Regions from separate parts of the Homo sapiens genome. Here regions 1 and 2 are each linked to region 3. The links are contacts of gene promoters, found by promoter capture Hi-C in human tissues and cell types (Jung and others, 2019). All regions are on one chromosome and are shown on one strand. Each heading gives the region's core, a stretch centred on a gene start or on the middle of the fragment in contact. The rest is flanking DNA. Distances are from core to core; before and after follow the strand shown. Region 1 overlaps LOC101929563 (a long non-coding RNA gene). Region 2 overlaps LOC101929563 (a long non-coding RNA gene). Region 3 holds the start of ELAVL2 (ELAV like RNA binding protein 2).

Region 1 (2,700 bases), core at 99-2,598, 220 kb before region 3:
TCATGAGGCCTCTGACCTCATGGCCTAATTACCTCCCAAAGGCCACACCGCTGAACACATTGAGAACTTAGGCTTCAACATACTAATTTTGAAAGGTACAAACATTCAGTCCACAGCAAGCCATGAAACCAAAAATGCTCTTATATTCTGGTTTTACATGTAGAGTATTAAAGAGAGCTTCATGCAGATGAACCTCACAGGATAACAGAAGTTGAAGTGTGTGGTTTTAACTTGTAAAGTTATTCCATACAGGGTATTTTACAATTTTTGAGTTAACGCAAGGCTATCCTATAATTTTCAATGAAGAATTTTGCATACTTCTATTAATGCTTGACATTCTAAAGCCATGAAACACACTTTCCGTTCCTCCACAGTCTCCCCAGCTGTCTACTTGCTGTCCCTTAAACATACTGAACCCATTCCTGACTCCTAGATTTAGCTCCTTAGTGTTCCATTCTCCATGTGGAACACTTTTATCTCTGCATATTCAAACTTATCTAACCTTCACATTTTGTCCCAAGCCCCATCTTATATTTAGATGTTAAGACTTCTCCAATTCCTGCCATCTCTAGTCACCTTGCTTACAACTGTGTATATTCCACAGTGAATTAATGTACTCTATGTGCCAGGAAGTGTGCTGGGCACTGGAGATGCAGCAGTGAACAAAACAGATGAGTGGTAAACAAGGCAGAGGAACAATCAGACAAAAATTAAAATTATATTTCTATAGTAAAAGGTAATATGGCAAGATTACCAAGACGGACTTCAGAATGAGAAGAGATCTCACCAGGTTTTCTGAGACCTAGGGTGATGCTAGATTGGGTCAGACCTCACTGTGAGCTGTCCTGGGAAAGAATCAAGGTTTGAGACTAGTAGTTACCACCACCCAATGAAGTGTAGATAGAAATAAACCACCAGTACACACACAGTTTATTGTGGATAAGTCTGGAGTTATGCAAAGCCTATCCTCTCCTCTCAAGATTTAGCGTACTGTACCATTAATGACACACTTCTTTGCCTCCTTTATAAAATGAACAGGTCTTTTTAAGTTCTGGTAGTTATCGCTCTTTCAAAATATCATATCAATGCTATCTTTCTTCAAGCAGCATAAAGTGAATTTTGAAGTGTTTTATTCTGATGATGTCCCTTGAAAGATATCCACTTGTTAAGTATCTCTCATGTAATTTTCAGTCTAAAGTCCATCATCTGTAGACAGAAGTGAGGACAGCACAGTTGGAAAGAGGCCTAAAGCTGTTATTTTAAACAAATAGCTAGTTACAAGTGCTGGTGAGGGAGAGCTTTTCCATTTCTCTTTTCATACACAGACTAGCTTGTCACTGCAGCATTTGTGTCCCTCATCTGATCAGCTAGAGGGGTGTCCAGAAATCCCCTAGCTACAATAGCCACTTGCAAACTCCAGATACATCAAAACAATGATTAATAAAATATATCTATAAGCGTGTTTACAGTCACAGGGGGTTAAGAGGGAAATGAAATAGCAGCTATTGCAAACTCCTTTCCCCTGGAATTCATAATTTATTTACCTTGTCTGTCCTGTTCCCGGTGTGGCTACAATCAATTGCATTCCATGTCAACTCCTAGTACCACAGTCTACTGTGCCTGCATTTCTAGCTGTACACACTAAAAATTCTATGAACACTTTCAAGAAAATATCAACATCTACATATTAGTTATCCAGGTGAAATATAATTGCTACTAGAAAACGATCTGGGGGGCCTATTCTTCCCTGTAGAAGTGTCCTTAGAGAGAAGTATATTAATCAGGGTAGGCTAAGTGAGGAAAGAACCCCAAAACCTCAATGACTTAATATAATCAACAATTATTTCTCATCTATGCCAAATGTAATGTGGATATTCCTGGTCTGGCTGTTCTCCTAAACACAAACTAGGGGATCCAGGTTCCTTCCAACTTTTACTGTTTGCAACTGCAACATAACATACCACTATTTTCATGCAATAATATGAGTGTAGGCATGGCCTACCAAAAATTTAACCACCTCTTCCAAAGTAACACATAATAATTTAGGTTCACATTAAATAAGCCAGAAATAGCCAAAGGCCTCACCTAGATTCAAGAGCCTTGGGAAATGTAAACCCGGCAAAATGGCATTCAACCTCCTGGAAAGGGAATGCCACGTTGCCGGTGATCAGCTAGCCATCTCTGTTCTGAGGACCTAATGTAGACATATTTTTTAAAAACACACACACACACATGATCTACCAATCTCAACTCTTACCAATCCTCCAGGAGATTATCAATGCCTGGCTCCTAAGTCCTCACAGTGATACAGTCCCGGTTTAAAGACAGGGGCTTAGGAGGCCAACAAACCTAGATTCAAATTCTAACCCATCACCTAGCAGTGGTGTGACCTTGTGCAGATAGCATATCCCTTCTCTGCTTCACCTCAACAATGGAGATAACCCTCATATTTTATTCACAGGGTTGTTGTGAAAATTAAATGATGGGGCGTCTCAATAAAGATACCCCCAAAATGAGAACAAAAGCTGTTTAATTAGAACTTGATGTAACAAGGAGTCAGCCACTGTCACTTGCATTTGCCAGAGTCAAGGTCAGGCAGGGAATGAGAAAACTTTATAATGAAAAAAGGGAAGGCTTCAGGTATGCTTTGATTGGAGGCTGCTGGCATGGGGAAGCTAGATGGGCTAACCAGGACCAGAC
Region 2 (2,700 bases), core at 163-2,662, 160 kb before region 3:
TGTATGTGTCAACTTGACTGCCTTAAGAGATGCCCAGATATTTGGTAAAACATTATTCTGAATGTGTCTATGAGGGTGTTTCTGGATGAGACTAACATTTGAATCAGCAGACTGAGTAAAGCAGATTGCCCTCTGTGTTAGTCAGGGCTTTCCAGAGAAAGAGAACCAGTAAGATGGAGATTATACATATAAAATATGTGTATGTCTGTAATGAGATAAGGAATGGGCTCACATGATTACAGAGGCTAACAAGTCCCACAAGTGGTGCAAATGACAATCTGAAGGCCTGAAACCCAGGGGTGCTAATGCTGTAAGTCCCAGTACAAGGAAAGAAGACTAATGTCTCCACTCAAGCAGTCAGATTAATGTTCTTGTGCCATTTTGTTCCAGTCAGGCCATCAGTGGGTTGGATGATACCCACCCTACAATGGGGAGGGTAATTTGCTCTCAGTCCAATTACAATGACAATCTCTTCCAGAAACAGCCTCACAGATACACCCAGAAATAATGTTTAACTAGGTATCTGGGCATCTCTTACATTAGCCCAACTGACACATAAAACTAACCAATACACACTCCCTAATGTGGATGAGCCCATCAGTTGAAGCCCTGAATAGAACACAAAGGTTGGCCCTCTAGTCAACAGGAGAAAACTCCTTCTGCCTGACTCCGCCTGCCTGACTGCCTTTGAACTACGACATTGACTTTTTCCTCCCTTCAGACATGAACATTGGCTCCTTCTGGGTCTCAAGCTCTCATGCTTCTCAAGCCTTTGGACTCATATTATTAATACACCATTGGCTGTCCGGGGTCTGGAGCTTGCAGACTCACCTTGCAGATCTTGAGATTTGCCCACCTCCATAATCGTGTGAACCAATTCCTTATAATAAAGTCCTTTATACATAAAAACACAAAAATGTTTTATATATATGGTATATATCTAGATAGATATGTATCTCCTATTGGTTCTATTTCTCTGTGTAACCCTAACACAACCATGAACTGTCACATCATTTTTCTCAAACTTCTTCAAACACATTAGGGCCTTTGTATGTTTCCTTTTTCACAAATGTTTATTACTATGTTGTTACCTTCTCATTCAAGTCTCAATTTCAATATCTCCTGCCCTAATATTCTTTGAAAAATGGCTTCCTCTCACCCTTCACCAATGATTCTCTACCTCAGCCTCTTATTTTTGTTCCCTTCAAAACCCTTATCAAATCTATAATTATTTTTATTACTTACTCATGCCTGTCTTCCCTGAATGGAAGGTAACCTTCATGAGGGTAGGCACCACATCTGTGTTATTCACTGTATCCTGGAGCCCTAGGGCAGAGCCTGTCACAGCAACTTTTAATCAATGTTGCAGAATAAAGAATAGCCCAGAGTTTACAGTCCCTGTCCTCTTCTTTGGAACTTCCATCCACTTTATCAGATAATGACCTTTGCATGAACAAGATGATGCTGGTGATGATAAAGACCCCCCTGTACCCTCCCCCAGTAAAGTGATGCTTGCTCCCCTATACCACTGTGAAGTCCTCTGCCATCTTTATGCTATTCTTACTCTCTGGACTCATCACTGAAATGAGGACTTACTCTCACAGGGGCTGTGCCTTACTACTTAACTGGGTATTCACACTGGTGATTCAGGTTAACAGTTAAGTCACCACCTCATGTGACGCACAGCAGGGACTTTTCCCCACCACCAACACCAGGCTACATGCAGCTTGAAGCTCTGGGTACTATGATAAGTCTCATGGGTTTGCTCAATGAACTGACTTATCCATTCCAGTTCCTCTGCGGCACCTAAATCAGAATAACCCTGGGTAACAATGGTGGATCAGTGGTGGGGATAAACATTAATGGGTACAACCTTTAACAAGAGTCTATGCTTAGAAATGGAGGATTTGAGGGCTAATCGGCTTCACCTTTCCCTAATAAAAATTATTTTTGTACTATTATTCATAGCTACCTTTGGCTGGTTCCACCCAATCAGTGCTTGCTATCTGTTCCTCACACTGGACCCATGAGGAGAGCTCTTATTTCCACATAGCACGGAAAGCAAAGTGAAAGCAGGACAGGAATTCACTGATTGGTCTGTGGTCAGTTCGTGAAGCTGATGAGCTTCTCACTGCTGTTGTTCCACTGGTGCTCTGATTCTCTCCTGCTTCACAAAAGGCAACAGGAGGAACATCTTTAACTCAGGTAGAACAATCTGATCTTGGTGCATGCCACCACCTAATTGAAGATAAAATAACCTGTCAGCACTAGTTACGTGAATTTGTCTCTATATACCTCAAAGTCCCCAAATGAGGCCAATCACAGTTATCTGAAACCTGCCAGCAAGCCAGGGAACTGGGTCCTGGGAAATCTTTCTTGACTATATCTGCTGTATCACAGGAAACTATGTAGAACCTTAAAAGATCTTCAGACTGTATATGCCTGGGATGATACTCTGCTCACCCAGTTCCTGACTGCATAAAATGTGACTGGAGTGTGAACTATGTTCATTTCCTGTACAACAGTTTTTCTTACCAAGTAAAAAGTCCCCTCATACCTGCTCTACTGAAAAAGGCTTAATCCTTTTCACTTCGCCAATGTGAATTTCATGCTGTAATGGGCCAAGTTTTGGAAAAACAAAGCAGTTGTTTTATACCTGCCCAACTTTCTGTTCACACAGGTGAACAGGACTATCAGTGG
Region 3 (2,700 bases), core at 38-2,537:
CCGCGTAGGACCAAGGACAGGGCTTGGAATCCACTTCCCAGCGCCCAGCACAGCGAGGCTCCCAAGCAGCCGGCACTTCATAGACACAGCTCCAAGGATCTTATTTACGCTTTTCTGAACAAAGGGAATCTCATATCCGGTACAGGCTTAAGAATTCAGCCCCAAATTGGCTATCTTCTTTTAAAACTGAATTATGATAATTGGAGTCCGTGAATCAGAGCCCGCATACAATGATGAGTTCTGACAGCTTCTAACAACCCTAGCCTCAGCCCAGCCCCAGCCCCAGCCCTCAGGCGGCATGTACTTTTTTCAGTCAACTACAACTCGCTGCCTGGTGCAGCATCTAAATTCCATCTGGCAATCCCATCTCCCCAGCACATGCTATCTGGTTAATGCAATTAAGCCTGTGGTTTTCGCTGGTCTAATCTGCCAGTCCAGGCTTCTGATTCCCCTTAATGATTGTAAAGCCTCTCCCGTCCTTCCGTTGCTGAGCCAAAGTAGAGGCATGCATCCCCAACACCCAAGTTATCACTCTCTCCCCACGAAATGAACTTCCGATCTCAATCTTGAAGCTCACTCCACATCTAACCTCCCATTGTACCCCTACTCCCCCCTGGCCACATTTACCACTTAAGTTTCTGCCATGGACATTTACGAATATTCAGTACGCTAAGCATGCGTCCACCGTCTTTTAGTCTAGCTCTTTAAAATTAAAAAAGCAGAACAGTAGCTTTGAAATGAGACAAACATGTGCAATTAACTTCATATTCTGTATTCCGCTCACTTACAGGTTTTCTGGGTTTGCCAGCGCATCGCTGCAACTAATGATTAAAGAAACCAAACCGAAACTTACCTTTCTCCCTTAAGGTTTTTGTGTATGTGTGTTTTTAAAGTAACGGTGCAGTTCTCCCAATAAGGATGAGCAAGAAGCTGCTGGATAGTTCTCTTAAGACAGCACGAAACCTAAACTGTGCTCGGCTTAAAAGAAGCAAATAAAAAGAAACGCTTTCGACCCCAAAGTCCAATGCTAAAAGAAATGGCGAAAAAAAATATGAAAGGGGAGGGGAAACTTAAAAAAGAGTTTAAAAAGACGGAGAGACTACCCTCCTATTGCCGTTCAACTAAACAAAAAGGGGCAAGAAAAACAAACCAAGGAACAAAGAAAAGAGACGAAAGAACGTTTTTTCAAAAAGACGATGTCTTTCTCCTTGTTGCTTTTTAGTAGGTCGCTACAGGAGTAAGCTGCTGCATCTCTAACTAAGAACAGAAATAGGGGGGAGGACGTCTTAAAAGGGAGGTGGACTGGACCACAGATTTATAGCACCGTATCACCAACCCCTTCTCTGCCTCCGCACTGCCGTGTGTGCAGCTGCTCTGCCAGGCTCCTATCCCGGGCAGCACGCGCGGAAGTATACGCCGAATCGCGCCACAACGTAACTTGCTCATCGCCCCAGGATCCTGATTGGTCCACACGCTTCCATTGAGGCCGCCCAGGCGGGGCCGCGTGAGACGATTGGCTATGGGCTTGTGTCACTCTCGAGAGCTCAATGGAGTCCCGTTTCAAGGTAAGTTGTGCGGGGAGGTACACTCTTAACACTGGCGGCGAAGGGAAATGCAAGAAGCAAAAAGAAATGTGGAGAGAGCAACGTGGGAGGGTTGGAACTGTACTATCAGAGTTTGCGATATGGCACGATCTCCTTTCCTCTTAAATCTTTCTGCTTCAGAAAGATTCATTTCCTTTGCCATCACTGCTGCATCTGTGGCATATTTCTTTATAACATTTAACTCTGTCCGGTATGTATGAGTCATTGAGAGCTCCCTCTCTTTGATCTGAGTGAAAGGGATGAATGTACATCCATTATTTGCCCGCATGCCTTTTTTCGATTTGTGTTCAGTACTGTATTTTGTATTAGATGTTAGGTAATTGTATGTCTTTATTTTAATATACGCATATTTCAGATTTATGTGTCCCCATGAACCCCTTTTTAAAGCATCCTTTTAAGATAAAGATGAAGTCAGAAATGCTCTCAAATAAAGCTGCACGGTTTGAATTGGCTTTCACTTCATGTTAGAATAGAAAAGTGTAGGATAAATATCCTATCCAGAAAAAGAGGTATTGAGTAGAGCTAAGGTCCTTCACTTCGAGGTGTCTAATGATTCTCAAAAAGAGCAGCTGTATATAAAACTGGAACAAGCCACTCCTCTGCATTTGCAGACAGGTACAGTCCTTGGACCACACATGTATTGCTGACAGCAAAGATAGTTGAACCTTTATCAGGGCTCTTTCTGTGAGGATTTAAGAAGTTTAACCAGAAGACCAAGTGCTATCAATGCTTCTGCTTCATAGAGGAAGACTACTTTATTACAACCCCATATTTTAACAGCATTCAGGAGACCAAAATACAGTTTTATGCATGATAATTGTTTCTTCCTCTAAGTGAAAGTGAGGTCCTCAGGATCGTCTGGATGTATAAGTAGACACAATATTCATTTGACCTACGTTCTTTTCCAGCCAGCATTTCTCTTTTCAATCTTGAAAGATAGCACCAACTTCCTAGACAGTTTTTACCATTCTTACCAGAATGTGTAAATGTAATGTACACATTACATTACACATGTAATGTGTCTTAACCAGAGGCACATGCCTTTTTGAAAGGGATTCCTTTACATATTTACAACTAGTCGCTATCTTTGAGAATG

What was found. Contacts are between HindIII fragments. The study calls those that stand out against the background at their distance.
Region 1: a fragment that was not itself captured here is called in contact with the fragment with the promoter of ELAVL2 in region 3 in 2 of the 25 tissues and cell types used here (dorsolateral prefrontal cortex and spleen).
Region 2: a fragment that was not itself captured here is called in contact with the fragment with the promoter of ELAVL2 in region 3 in 1 of the 25 tissues and cell types used here (mesendoderm cells).

What each region holds. Positions count from the first base shown.
Region 1 is chr9:23,607,083-23,609,782 of GRCh38, forward strand. The region is part of intron 9 of LOC101929563 (a long non-coding RNA gene); the gene reads right to left. Among named protein-coding and RNA genes, the nearest start is that of ELAVL2, 220 kb to the right of the region's middle. The HindIII fragment of the contact is 7,072 bases long and covers 1-2,700 here.
Region 2 is chr9:23,660,854-23,663,553 of GRCh38, forward strand. LOC101929563 (a long non-coding RNA gene) reads right to left here. Exons shown (of 28, transcript NR_121602.1): 4 at 1,973-2,164. Among named protein-coding and RNA genes, the nearest start is that of ELAVL2, 160 kb to the right of the region's middle. The HindIII fragment of the contact is 5,088 bases long and covers 1-2,700 here.
Region 3 is chr9:23,824,953-23,827,652 of GRCh38, forward strand. ELAVL2 (ELAV like RNA binding protein 2) reads right to left here and starts at 1,288. Exons shown (of 7, transcript NM_004432.5): 1 at 854-1,288. It overlaps LOC105375992 (a long non-coding RNA gene), which reads left to right and starts at 1,476. Exons shown (of 3, transcript XR_929519.3): 1 at 1,476-1,565. The HindIII fragment of the contact is 12,029 bases long and covers 1-2,700 here.